3 separate regions of the Homo sapiens genome follow, and all the other regions are linked to region 1. The links are contacts of gene promoters, found by promoter capture Hi-C in blood cells and fetal thymus (Javierre and others, 2016). All regions are on one chromosome and are shown on one strand. Each heading gives the region's core, a stretch centred on a gene start or on the middle of the fragment in contact. The rest is flanking DNA. Distances are from core to core; before and after follow the strand shown. Region 1 holds the start of IGFBP2 (insulin like growth factor binding protein 2). Region 2 overlaps DIRC3 (disrupted in renal carcinoma 3). Region 3 overlaps DIRC3 (disrupted in renal carcinoma 3).

What was found. The method cuts DNA at HindIII sites, captures the fragments that hold promoters and counts their contacts. A CHiCAGO score of 5 or more calls a contact.
Region 2: a contact is called between a fragment that was not itself captured here and the fragment with the promoter of IGFBP2 in region 1, in 1 of 17 cell types (erythroblasts). The highest score is 5.8, in erythroblasts.
Region 3: a contact is called between a fragment that was not itself captured here and the fragment with the promoter of IGFBP2 in region 1, in 1 of 17 cell types (fetal thymus). The highest score is 5.7, in fetal thymus.

The regions. Positions count from the first base shown.
Region 1 is chr2:216,630,250-216,634,669 of GRCh38, forward strand. IGFBP2 (insulin like growth factor binding protein 2) reads left to right here and starts at 3,171. Exons shown (of 4, transcript NM_000597.3): 1 at 3,171-3,716. The coding sequence starts at 3,275. The HindIII fragment of the contact is 7,523 bases long and covers 1,785-4,420 here.
Region 2 is chr2:217,529,526-217,533,945 of GRCh38, forward strand. The region is part of intron 2 of DIRC3 (disrupted in renal carcinoma 3); the gene reads right to left. Among named protein-coding and RNA genes, the nearest start is that of DIRC3-AS1, 250 kb to the left of the region's middle. The HindIII fragment of the contact is 539 bases long and covers 1,872-2,410 here.
Region 3 is chr2:217,504,880-217,509,299 of GRCh38, forward strand. All of the region lies in intron 2 of DIRC3 (disrupted in renal carcinoma 3), which reads right to left. Among named protein-coding and RNA genes, the nearest start is that of DIRC3-AS1, 220 kb to the left of the region's middle. The HindIII fragment of the contact is 789 bases long and covers 2,131-2,919 here.

The DNA of each region.
Region 1 (4,420 bases), core at 1,921-4,420:
GGATTGAGGATGCTCTGTGATTCAAGCCTCTGTAGCAGCTGGCCTTTGGGGAGTGGGATTCTGAGTGAGGCTCAGGAGAGGTTAGGAAAAGCCTTAAAAATATGGGATTATTTTGTTATGTGTTTGCGTGTATTTAGGGTGGGGAAGGGTAAAATTGGCCATTAACCTGGGAACTAGGAGAAAAGAATTGGGTGTGGCCTTCAGGCTCATTAGAAAGTGAAATATCATTGAGTACTTTGCATTTGTCAAGTCAGCATCACTTTGCCTGCTCATCTCCACTGCTCTTGGCTGAAAGATCAAGAACTTTAAAAGGAGGTGGAAAGAGAATGAATCCCAAAAGATAAGTGAGTAGCTGCATGGGAATGAATGAATCAATGCCACTCTTAGCCTCTTAATAGACTCATCACAGCCTTTCATTCCCAGCTCCTGGGCATTGCAATTAAGACAGAAAGAGAATGAGGGGCCCTGCCAGGAATATTTTGAGAGACTGTACTTTTCATTCACTCAACAAATATTTATTGAGTGCTTACCTGGTGCCAGGCAGTATTTAGACCTGTGGGCTGTCCAATTTGATAGCTACCTAGCCACACATGGCTATCAAACATTTGAATTTTGGCTACTTCAAACTGAAATGTGCTGTATAGCATACACATCAGAACTTGAGGATTTAGTATAAGAAAAGGAATGTTAACTCTCTCATTAATTTTAGTGTTGATTACCCATTGAAATGATAGTATTTTGGATATACCGCCAAATTAAGAATATTATTAAAATAAATGTCATCTATTTCTTTTTACTATATTTTAATATGGCTACTAGAAATTTACAATTGCACATGTGCTCACGTTTGCGATTTGCAGTAGATTTCTATTGGACAGCGTTGTGCTAGACCCTGTGCCTACTCTGTAGGAGCTCAGTGGGTGGGACCAACAGAAACACGTTACAAAGCAGGCAGGAGACACCAGGGAGAATGAAGGTGGAATGACCATGATCCTTCCTGTGTCTTATTTTTATTTTTTTTAGATTGGCACTGTACATAGTGCTTTTTACTTCTTTTTTTTTTTTTTTTCAGATCGGCACCCTACATAGTGCTAACGATTTTTTTTTTTTTTTACTTTTTTTTCAGATCGGCACTCTACATAGTGCTAATGATTTCCAGAAGTCCAGCTCTGTCCATCTCTTCCTCTGCTCAAACATGGATGCTGTATCCTTACTGCCCAGCATATTAAGCCAAAGCGCCACAGTCAACTGGATTTCCTGCCTCCCCTGCTGCTCTCTGCAAGCATCCTGCACTCTGGCTGAAGTGGACTTTCTGATCCCCAAACTCATTTTCCCATTTCTCTCTCTCTCTCTCTCTCTCTCTCTCTCTCTCTCTCTCTCTGTGTGTGTGTGTGTGTGTGTGTGTGTGTGTTTTGAGACTGATTCTTACTCTGTCACCCAGGCTGGAGTGCAGTGGTGCGATCTTGGCTCACTGCAACTTCCACCTCCTGGGTTCAAGCGATTCTCCTGCCTCAGCCTCCCAAGTTGCTGGGACTACAGGCGTGCATCACCGTGCCTGGCTATTTTTTGTATTTTTAGTAGAGATGGGATTTCACCATGTTGGCCACGGTTGGCCAGGCTGGTCTTGAACTCCTGATCTCAGGTGATCCACCTGCCTCGGCCTCCCAAAGTGCTGGAATTACAGGTGTGAGCCACCGCGCCCGGCCCCATTTCTGTGTTTTTGCTTCAGGTGGTCCCTCTGCCTGTGCCCTTGCTAACCGCCCATTTCCTCTGGTAGAATTACAAGCTTCAATTTCAGCTCCGACTCACCCAAGAAACTCCCCTTTCCTCAACCACCACATCACCTCTCTACCAAAATATTTCTTTTCTTCAAAGCCTCTGATAAACATTTATTTATTTATTTTTTATCTTACCAAAGTCTTTCCCGATAACTCTTCCCAGCTTGGCGTCTTAAGACCAGGTACTTGCCTTCCTGGAGGCATCTAGGTCACCTTCAGAGCCAGGTGGCCATTGGGTTAACTAGCTGTTGAACTGAATCAAACAGGCTCTGAGCCTTGAAGTCAGAAAGAGCCAGAGTGGAGGGGTCTGGGGGGAAGAGGGGCGCTGAGGTATAGGGAGATGAAACCTGCGGTGGAGGCAGCTTAATGGTCCACCTGTCACCCAAGGAATCTCTCTGACAGGGGTCTTTGTTAGGGTCACACCCCAGGAGATGGTTGATTATGGCTGAGTCCAGCCTGGAATGATGGGGGTTGGGGGCAGCTTGGGTAGATGACTCAGTAAATCAAACAGAACAATGAAAGGAGGTCATGCTTGTCCATCTGCATTATTGAAGACAGCCATAAATGGCCTTACCCCAGAGCGGGTCTGTCACACCTGGAGAGCTGATCTGACCTCTCCAAGACCCCTGCAACTGAGTGTTCTGGGATCTGTCCTGCAACAAGTGCCTCGAGATTTGTAGGTGGGGGCCCAGGGTGCTAAGGGATTATTTTAGCGGGCGGAGAAGGGAGGGGGTCTGCAGACGAAGGGGGCAGGTTTTGCGGGGCACTTAGGGTTCTCATAGGTTGTAGTCACGAGCTCCCAGGTTTGGAAAACTGCAATAGTCACTAAGACCATTCGGGGCTGTTTGGGTCTAGCTTGGTCTAGACGGGTCTGAAACTCCGCAGGACCCACCCAACAAGAAGTCATTGTTCCAAGCCACGTGTCAGTGGTGGGTGATACCCCAGGATGGAAGGAGTTGGTATGAGCCGACTGAAATCTACTTGAAGGTCAAAACGGAGCCTTATGTCTTTTGTGTTCCCCAGCGGTTAGCCCAGTGCCGGCCACAGGGGAAGCGCGCAAACGAAGTCCTCGCGAACTGAACTGAGAGCAGACAAAAGCACGCGCTCTTCTCCACCGCCACGCCGGTCCTACCCAAACCCGCGAGTTATCCGTATTCTCCTTCAGGAGTCATAGTCAGGCCAGAAGAGTGCGGAGGGACGGGGCCCGGGAAGAGCAGGGAACCCCCAGAGCCCGCAGCCAACGCGGAGGTGGGCGAGCGGGCGTGCGCGCACTCACTTGCCGGCGCGAGGGAGTGTCGGGGGGGAAGGGAGTGGTCTCCAAAAGGGGGAGGGGAGAAGGCAGGGGGCGGGGAGAAGCCGGCCCTTTAGGACCCGGCTGCGGCGGCGAGGGAGGAGGAAGAAGCGGAGGAGGCGGCTCCCGCGCTCGCAGGGCCGTGCCACCTGCCCGCCCGCCCGCTCGCTCGCTCGCCCGCCGCGCCGCGCTGCCGACCGCCAGCATGCTGCCGAGAGTGGGCTGCCCCGCGCTGCCGCTGCCGCCGCCGCCGCTGCTGCCGCTGCTGCTGCTGCTACTGGGCGCGAGTGGCGGCGGCGGCGGGGCGCGCGCGGAGGTGCTGTTCCGCTGCCCGCCCTGCACACCCGAGCGCCTGGCCGCCTGCGGGCCCCCGCCGGTTGCGCCGCCCGCCGCGGTGGCCGCAGTGGCCGGAGGCGCCCGCATGCCATGCGCGGAGCTCGTCCGGGAGCCGGGCTGCGGCTGCTGCTCGGTGTGCGCCCGGCTGGAGGGCGAGGCGTGCGGCGTCTACACCCCGCGCTGCGGCCAGGGGCTGCGCTGCTATCCCCACCCGGGCTCCGAGCTGCCCCTGCAGGCGCTGGTCATGGGCGAGGGCACTTGTGAGAAGCGCCGGGACGCCGAGTATGGCGCCAGCCCGGAGCAGGTTGCAGGTAACGCGGTCTGGAACAAGTAGTTGGGAGAAACTTGGAGGGCAGCGGAGAAGCCCGACGGGCGGCTGGACCTTACGGACGGTTTTAGGGGCGGCAGAGCCGAGACCTTGGACCAAATCAAGGGGGACTGTTGCTAGCGGGACGCGGAAGTCAGGCCCGGGGAGGGGAACTGGAGTTAGAGCAAGTGGAAGAGCCCTGGCGACTCATTTGGTGGGGATGAATGGGGAGAGGAAAGGCATCCCTGCTGCCATAGTTTTACCCGCGTGGAACGGACCCAGACTTCTATTCTGGAGGAGGGATTTGCTGAGAAGGGGGCCGGTGGTCAGATCCATGGGAGTAGGAACTCGAATCTTATTTGGGGCACTGCTTGAGGACCCAAGGGTCCTGGTGGGATCGCTGCTGGGAGGCGGAGGCTGCGGGGTGCCAGTGACACCAGGAACCTTGGAAGAGGAGAGGGAGCTAGGAGGAGGCACCGGCGTCCCAAGGGGCCCTTCCTTCTACTGGGGTTGTGAGTTGGAAAGAAAGGACTTGGTACTTTGTAGGATGAGTCGCTTAGGAGAAAAATGAAAACCACCACTACTATTTCTCCATAGGGAACGAGCAGGGCTCTTGCTACCACGTTGAATGGAAAAATAAAAGGGAGGCATTTGGTAGGCGAGGGGTCTCCTAGCAGCTGAATCAATGTAACTTAAGCCCGATCGCCG
Region 2 (4,420 bases), core at 891-3,390, 900 kb after region 1:
GTACCAAACACATCCTTGTTGAATGAATCAATGCAATCATATCTATGGTTTGTGGCTAGGGCAGCCAGAAGATTGGTAGACTGGCATCAGTAAGAGCTATCTGGACATATAGGAAGTGCTTTCCAATTGTTGAGTCGCAGAGATCTTAACAATCCAGAGATATTCTTTTGGGATTGGATAATACTCACAGCTTCCACAAAAGAACCTTGCAAAAAGTTGTGGAGGCTTTACAAGACTAGATGGAGCCAGGCCTCCATCAGCCAATTCTGGAGAAACACTTGTATGCTGGAAAACTGTCCCTGGGACAAAAAAAAAAAAAAAAAAACAACAACAACAACAACAACAACAAAACAGCATGACACTGATACCAACATTTTAATCACGATAATTATTGTTAGTGCTTGGCACAGGCAAACTCCTAATCTCTGTAACCTGGTAAGGGTTCTTTTCTAACCAAGGACTCAAGGATCAAGTTGTCTCTTCATCTCAGCATATGCCTTTCATGGTTGCCCCAGCAAGGTAAAGAAAGATCGAGGTAGCACAATGCCTCTTTACTGCTTTGGCCCCAGTATGGCACAGATCATTGCTGATCACAGCTATCGGCCAGAACTAATCAAATGGGCCTAATCCAACTGCAAAGGGAGCACCTGAATAATAAGTGAGCGCTAAATGTCTCTACCACTGCTGAGGACTCAACAGAGGGGCAGTCTGATGTCTCACCATGCTGATAGCCAGGAAGCTCTGGATTTCCTCCCTCTATGTTTTAATGACTTAACCAGGGGTGGTAAAGGAGGCCTTTAGAAAAGATTCTCAAACACAGGGGCCCAGGGATCCCTGGGAATCATTTCTTACTTTGCCATCATCTTTTCTCCCTTTTTTTTTTTCTAATAGATAGCTCTCAGAGGGGATTACCAAAGCAATTTTATGGTCTTTATAGCTGGTTCTCTCCCCAGTAATTCAGCTGAGAGTCAAAGATCACAGAAAACCTGGCACCTCCCTCATCTCACTATCTCTCTGGAGAATGTGGGCCCTCCTCCCTCTCTGGAATACATGGAGGCCGCCAATTACAACATAGATTCTCCTGCCAGCTTCAGTGCTGTCTGCCAGGAGTAGGGCTACTCCCAAGAGGTTGACAACCTAAAAGGCCTTCATCACTATTCAGAGAGCCATAGCCCTGGTCCCCACAAGACTTTAAAAATGGCTCCCTTTGGGTAATTTCTAGTGCTGCTTTGCTGAAGCTCCTTGCATACCAAAGTTTATAGCAAGAACCAAAGCACCTGCCATGCCCCACTCCCACCCACCCCCTTCATACCCTTCTCCCTTGCTCTACCATCCTTCACCTGGGCTTCTGACTCAGCCTGCAGATAGCCTACAGGTCAAAGTCCACTTCCACCTGACCAGCCTGTGACTCTCTGAAAAACAGACCAAAGCTAGCCTGAGGCTTTTAGGGGAAGGAAACATAGGCAGTTTGAAGTCCTAGGGGCTGAAAACTTAGGCCTACGTTTCTGGCTATACTTTGCCAAGTTTTTTCCATGAGCATGAGACTGTGGCAATTCTGAATTGTCCAATCCCTGGCTGTGGTTCAAGCCACACTTCTAGTCACCTTCGCAATACACCCCTTACCATCTCCAGCTCCCCGACTGCCCTCCATCTCCTGGACCTCTCAGAGCCCCAGAATTTTCCTGCAGCCAACATATTGAGAGTCTTGTAAAAGCTGAATACAAGAAGAAGAAAAAGAGAGGCCAAGCTTATTAAACTCCTCTTCAGCTGGCTGCATGGATTCTTTTAAGTCCACTGTTGGATTTCTTTGAGGTCTCAGTACGTGCTGACTTGCATGGCTGGTTTGGGGGATAGGGAAAGGAGGTAAGAAAAGCTTTGCACTGGATAAATAAAAATCCCTTTGTTAATTAAGGAGACATTAACAAGACCATGGCCTATATCAGGCAGCCTACACAGAAGGTTTGATTCTTCAGGAATTAAAAACAAGGAAATAGAGAAACTCCCCCACCACACTGCATAACTTTGTTCTAGGGCTGCTAAGTTATTCCCTGCTACTACATCAGCTGTGAGAGCCCTGTGAAATATGCTGTGGTTAAAATAAACTCAAGCACCTAAGCATATTTTTTTAGATGTGTTAGGTTATCTAAAACAGTTCATCTCCTCTATCTTCTCTTTGAAAAAAAGCCTAAATTATTAATTTTCTATCCAGTCATTTTATGTTTTCCTGCCCTGTCTGTCCTCTTCATAGCAGCCCAATCTGAATGAGAGACATGAACAAAGTGATTTAAGAATTGTTGACTGGAAAAGGAGTAAGGTGATACACCAATAGCCCTGGTCCACACAAAACCTTACAAATGGCTTCCTTTGGGTGATTTCTAGTGCTGCTTTGCAAAAGCTCTTTGCATGCCAAAGCTTATAGCAAGGACCAAAGTGCCTGCCATGCCTCCTGCTCCCCACCCCCTTCATAGCCTTCTCCCTTGCTGTACTAGCCTCACCTGGGCTTCTGAATCAGACAGGTTAGGATCAGAGGTCCAGGTCTTCCTCTCTCATGGACAGGTTGCATAGCCTGTTTGAGATTGGATTTCTTCATTTATTCAGTGTGAGCAGACTATGAAATGTTGGAGATTATATGTGATTGTTTATAATGTTCCTAATACACTCTAGGTGTTCAATCAATTACACATTGAAGAATGGCATTATGAAATCACATTGTTATTATTAACACCACCTTCCACTCTTTCTTTACTTCCCTTGAACAGATCCAGTCTACCCCAAAAGGACCTTAGCCATTTCCACATAACCTAATCAGTAAACTGGGCTCATTAAACTTTTCTAAAAGATGTGAATAGGGCAGACAGAAATTGATATGGTTTGGCTGTGTCCCCACCCAAGTCTCTTCTTGAACTGTAGCTCCCACAGTTCTCAAATGTCATGGGAGGGACCTGGTGGAAGGTAATTGAACCATGGGGGCAGGTCTTTCCTGTGCTGTTCTCATGACAGTGAATAAGTCTCAGGAGGTCTGATGGTTTCATAAGGGGGAGTTTCCCTGCACAAGCTCTCATTCTGTCTTTGCCTGCTGCCATGTAAGACATGCCTTTTGCCCTCTGCCATGATTGTGAGGCCTCCCCAGCCTCACATGGAACTGTGAGTTCAATAAACCTCTTTTTCTTTATAAATTACCCAGTCTTGGGTATGTCTTTATCAGCAGCATGAAAATGGACTAATACAGGAATACAACAGCCTCAGGTCACTACAAGCTCAAATTAATGCCCTGCCTTCTGAAAAATTTACACATCTCCCTCCTCTTTCCACTTATTGAACACTTTTATATGGCTGACCCTTTGCTAAGCTCTTTGCGTGCATGGTTTCAACTGGACATCACAACTCTGCTGTTTACAGGAACCCTGGGATCCTGGCTGCTGAGTTGCTTAGAGTCTCTCCAAATTTAACCACCAGCCTGCTATAAAAACCTCTTGTAGCATCCCCAAACCCCAAACAGATCATAGAAACTCTTAACTTTGGGCAGACATCATGCTTTTTATGTCACAGAAGCCAGTCTCATGAGTTTCTGGGTAACAGTCACTGGTATGTAATCCTCCCAAAATCCTCTCCCATAGGACATTACTTGATTGCTCCCTCTGGGTATGAGGTGTCCTAGAACGAGCCCGGCAAGGACACCAAAATTGTTTTCACAAAACCCTTGTATTACTGCTTCCTCTTCCTATATCTGGTAGTTCCCCAGTGGCTATTCTAAAGTTAACCTTGTAGTCCTCCTTTCCCATATTGCATCTGTAGGGAAATGAGACACAGATACACAAGCAGCTGGGAATTCTTGTGAGGCTGAAAAGATGAGAGTTGAAGGTTCATGGATTTTGAGCAATCACTAGCGAGTAAATCACATCCGATCTTTCTAGTGCAAGGAGCAATATGCTCATTATCTCATAACTACAGAAGAGTATGCCAAGGCCAAGATGCCAGACTGTCTGGTCTCCTGCTTTGGGCATTTGGATGTCTAAAGCAATCAGGACATATGTCCCTGTGTCCTCTCATTGAGTATCTTGAAGGGGGAGACACTCTGACATTACTTCCCCTGACACTGGCCCAGGAAACTTGATCACTGAGTAAGCCCAATATAAGCTGGAGGACTCAAGTTGTAGACTTTTGTTTCTGTTCTGACTGGTCCACCTCCAAACTGCTTTCAAGATTCAGGTCTACTGGCTCCTAAGAACTTCAGTCTTAGTATTATCAAGTAAGGCAGAGAGAAAAGGGAAGGTTTAGGAGTCAGACAAATTTTGGTTTGAATCCTAATTCAGCTACAGCCATGCATTGTTTAATGATGGATAAACGTTCTGAGAAGTGTGTTGTCGGGTGATTTTGTTATAGTGTGAACATCATAGAGTGTACTCACACAAACCTAGAC
Region 3 (4,420 bases), core at 1,275-3,774, 870 kb after region 1:
AAGCCTATTATATGTACTCTTTTGCACTTTGCATTTTTTTTACTTAAAACATATCAGTGTAAGTAACCCTAAGCAGTTAAGCAATTAATAAAAATCTTTATCATTGAGACAGAGTCTTGCTCTGTCGCCAGGCTGAAGTGCAGTGGCGTGATCTTGGCTCACTGCAACCGCCGTCTCCCAGGTTCAAGCAGTTCTCCCGCCTCAGCCCCCCGAGTAGCTGGGACTACAGGCGTGCACTACCATGCCCAGCTAATTTTTGTATTTTTAGTAGAGACAGGGTTTCACCATATTGGCCAGAATGGTCTCGATCTCTTGACCTCATGATCTGCCCACCTCGGCCTCCCAAAGTGCTGGGATTACAGGCGTGAGCCACCACGCCCAGCCCTTCATCATTCTTTTCTATAGTTAAATAATTGCCCCAATGTGTGGATGTGCCAGGGTTTATTCAACCAATATTTTATATATTGGTATTCAGGTTGTTTGTTATTTTACTCCTACAAATTATGATTTGATGAATAACCCTGTGCATATGTTTCTTTTGTTCACTTTGGTTTTGTTTGTTTGTTTGTTTGTTTTGGAAGTTTTCAGAATAAAGTTATAGGAGTCAGTTGCAGAGTCAGCAGATAAATGTTACTCTGCCGTATCTCCCTCCAAGCTGATTACACCACTTGAACTTCCAAAGGCAATGTATGTGACTGTGTTATGAGCCAAATTATGTCCTCTGAAAATTCATCTGTTCAAGCCCTAACCCCCAGTGCCTCAGAATGTGACTGTATTTGGAGAGAGGACCTTTAAGGAGATAAGTTGTTCTTGGCCTCCCAGCCTCCAGAACTGTGAGAAAATAAATGCGTGTTGTTTAAGCCCCTCAGTCTATGGTATCCTGTTATGGCAGCTGAGGCGCACTAATGCAGCCTATTTTCCCACAGCTTCAGCAGGAGAATGAGTTGTTAAACTTGTGAATTTTTGCCAACTCAATCGGTTATAAAAGTATAGTTTTGGTCTGTGTAACCGTTTTAAGAGTGCAGCTGAGCATCTTTTCATGTGTTTAAGGGTCAAGTTCCTATAATTTTTGTGGAAATTCACGATTTTTGCTTTTTTCTCAATTTTTAAAAATGTTTTATACATTAAGGAGAGGGCATTTATCTCTGATGCATGTTGCAAATATTTTTGCTTTTTTAGCCACACAATTCTTTATTAATTTTATGTAGTACAACTCCTCAATCTTTTCTTTCATTGTATATGGATCTTTAGTCACATTTAGAAAGCCTGTCCTATATTCAAGTTACAAAATATTCATTCATGTTTTCTTCTAGTATTTGTATGGATTGTTTATTATGTATTTTTCCATTTAGATTTCTCGTGCCTTCAGAGTTTATTATGGTATATGGTGTAAGGTGTGGATCCAGTTCTGTCTTTATCCAAATAGTTGTCCAACTGTCCCAATACCATTTATTCAGAAGTCCATACTTGCCCAATGATTTGAAATGCCATCTATATCAAATAATACATTTTTATGCTAGCTTAAATCTATTTCTGGACTTTCTATCTTGTTCCTCTGATCTCTCCATTCATGTGCCACTACCATACTGTGTTAACCACCAAGCAGTTACAGTACGTTTTAGTATCCAAGAAGACCAATCTCCCCTTATTGCTTCCCTCATCCCCCCTGTGTAGGGTCTCCCAGCCATTCTTGCATGTTCACTTTTCTATATAATTTTAGAATCAACTTGTTTAGGTCCAGAAAACAAAACAAAACAAAAGCTTGTTGACATTTTTCTTGCATTTAAGTTAAATTCACATGTTAACTTGAGAAGAGCTGACATCTGTATGATGTTGAGTAGTTTCTCTCCAAGAAGAACAGATGCCTTTTTACTTGCTCAAGTCTACTTGAATGTCTTTCTGAAGTGTTTTAGAATTTTCCTCATTTAGATTTTGCATATTTCTTTTCAAGTTTCACCTCTTTTTGTTGTAATTATAAATGGATGTTTTCTCTTCCATTACATCTTGTAATTGGTTATTTTTGTATATATGAAAGCTATTGATTTTTATAAGTTAATTTATATCCTACTGTCTCATTGAATTCCTTATTTAATTTCAATTAGTTTAATCATGAATTCTCATGGGTTTTCAAGCTTTACTATCATTTCATCTGCATAGAGAGTTTTTGCTTCTCAAATTTTTACACCTATATCTAATTGTATTGATTAACACCGACAAGACAATGTTAAATAGTAAGGAAGATAGCATCCTTATCTTATTTCTGGCCTTAGCAGGAATGCCTCCCAGGCTTCTCAATTAAATAAGATGCTAAGTTTAGGACAGAGGTACACGGATATGCATAAAGCACATATACACATGTACACATATGTAAACTGCGTGAAGTCTTTCTTTTTGAGTGCATTTTTTCTATTTCTATTTAATTGAGTGCATTTTTCAGGAATGAGTGTTGAATATTACTGAAGGTCATTTCAGCACCTATGGAGATAATTGTTTGATTTTTCTCCTTAAATCTATTAATAAGGTGAATTATATAAATTAATTTCTGCATATTTAAAGTCTGCATTCCTGGAATTTGATATTGATGTTTTATTAATATGGTGTTGGAAACTTTTGGCTAGTTTTTTAATCTAATTTTAGCATCTATATTTATAAAGGTAATTGGCTTGTAGATTCCTACAATAATAATGATCATTGTTATCACCATTAATATTAATCTTTATTAGGATTTGATAGCAACATTATATGGAGAATTTGGAAGTTCTCCATTTTATATACCTTGGAACAATTTATTTGAGATTATGTGATCTTTGAAGATTCATAGAATTCCCTTATGAAACCATATTGGTCCAGTGTTTCCACGTGGAATAATTTTTGACAACTTTCTTCACTTTTTTTCTACTCTGGAGAATGGTCTGCTTAAGCTTTCTATATCAAATGGGACCTGTTTTGGTAAATTACATTTTCATATGGTATAATCAATTTCATAGTTTCCAAATGTATTTACATAGAGTTTTGCAAAGTAGTCAACCTGTGATTTATTTTCCTTTTTATAATGATTATTTCCTTCTAGTCTTTTCTTATTTTGTATATTTGCTCTTTGCCTTTTTTTCTTGATTAGGTTAGTTATCAGTATATTGTTTTTCCTTTTTTCCCCAAAGAACCCATGTGTTAGTCCATTCTCATAGTGCTATAAGGACATACCAGAGACTGGGTAATTTATAAATGAAAAGAGGTTTCATTGACTCACAGTTCCACAGGGCTGGGGAGGCCTCAGGAAATTTACAATCATGATGGAAGGGGAAGCAAACACATCCTTCTTCACATGATGGCAGCAAGGAGAAGTACAGAACGAAGAGGGAGAAAATAGCCACTTATACAACCATCAGATCTCGTGAGAACTCACTCACTACTATGAGAACAGCATAGAGGTAACTGCCCCCATGATTCAATTACCTTCCACCAGGTCCCTCCCACAACACAAGGGGATTATGGGAACTACAATTCAAGATGAGATTTGGGTGGGGACACAGCCAAACCATATCAACCAGCATTTCGAATCATTAATTAGTTCTTTTTTTACTCTTTTGTATTACATTAATTTCCTCTTTTATCCTTATTATTTCCTGCTTTATACTTTCTTTTTATTTACTTTGTAATTTTTCTCGGTTTTTAAGTTGGGAATAAAATTTATTTATTGTAATTATTTTTTATTGATTCAAATATTTAATCCCACAGATTATCCTCAGATCACTGCTTTATTTCTCATTAAATCAGATGTGCATATTTTTATTCTATTATTGTTTTTTGAAATTCTGCAATTTTAGTTTGTATATCCTTTTTCACCCAATAGTCATCTAACAGATGTTAATTTCCAAGTAGAAGAACGTTTTTAAATTTTCTCATTAATTTCTACTTCATGGAACTCACTCAAAAACTTTCTTTGTGACTACAATGGGCTGAATGCTTATGTCCCCCTAAAATTCACATTGAATTGAAATCCTAATTCCCAAGGTGGTGGCATTAGGAGGTGGGGCCTTTGGGAGGTGATCAGGCCATCAGATATCTACCCTTATAAGTGGGATTAGTGCCCTTATAAAAGAGACCCCAGAGAGCTAGCTAGTCCCTGTCACTATGTGAGGACACAGCAAGAAGGTGTTGTCTATGAATGAGGAGGTAGGTCTTCAACAGACACCAAATCTGCTGGCACCTTGATCTTAGACTTCTTAGTCTCTAAAACTGTGAGAAGTAAACTTTTGTTGTTTCTAAGCCACCCAGTCTCTGATATTCTGCTATAGCAGCCTAGAGGAAGACAGTTACTCAACATGAGGTCAATTTCTGTGAACATTCTATTTGTGCTTAAGAAGAGAGTATATTCCCAATATTAGCAAGAGTGGAGGTTTCATATATATCTATAATGTCT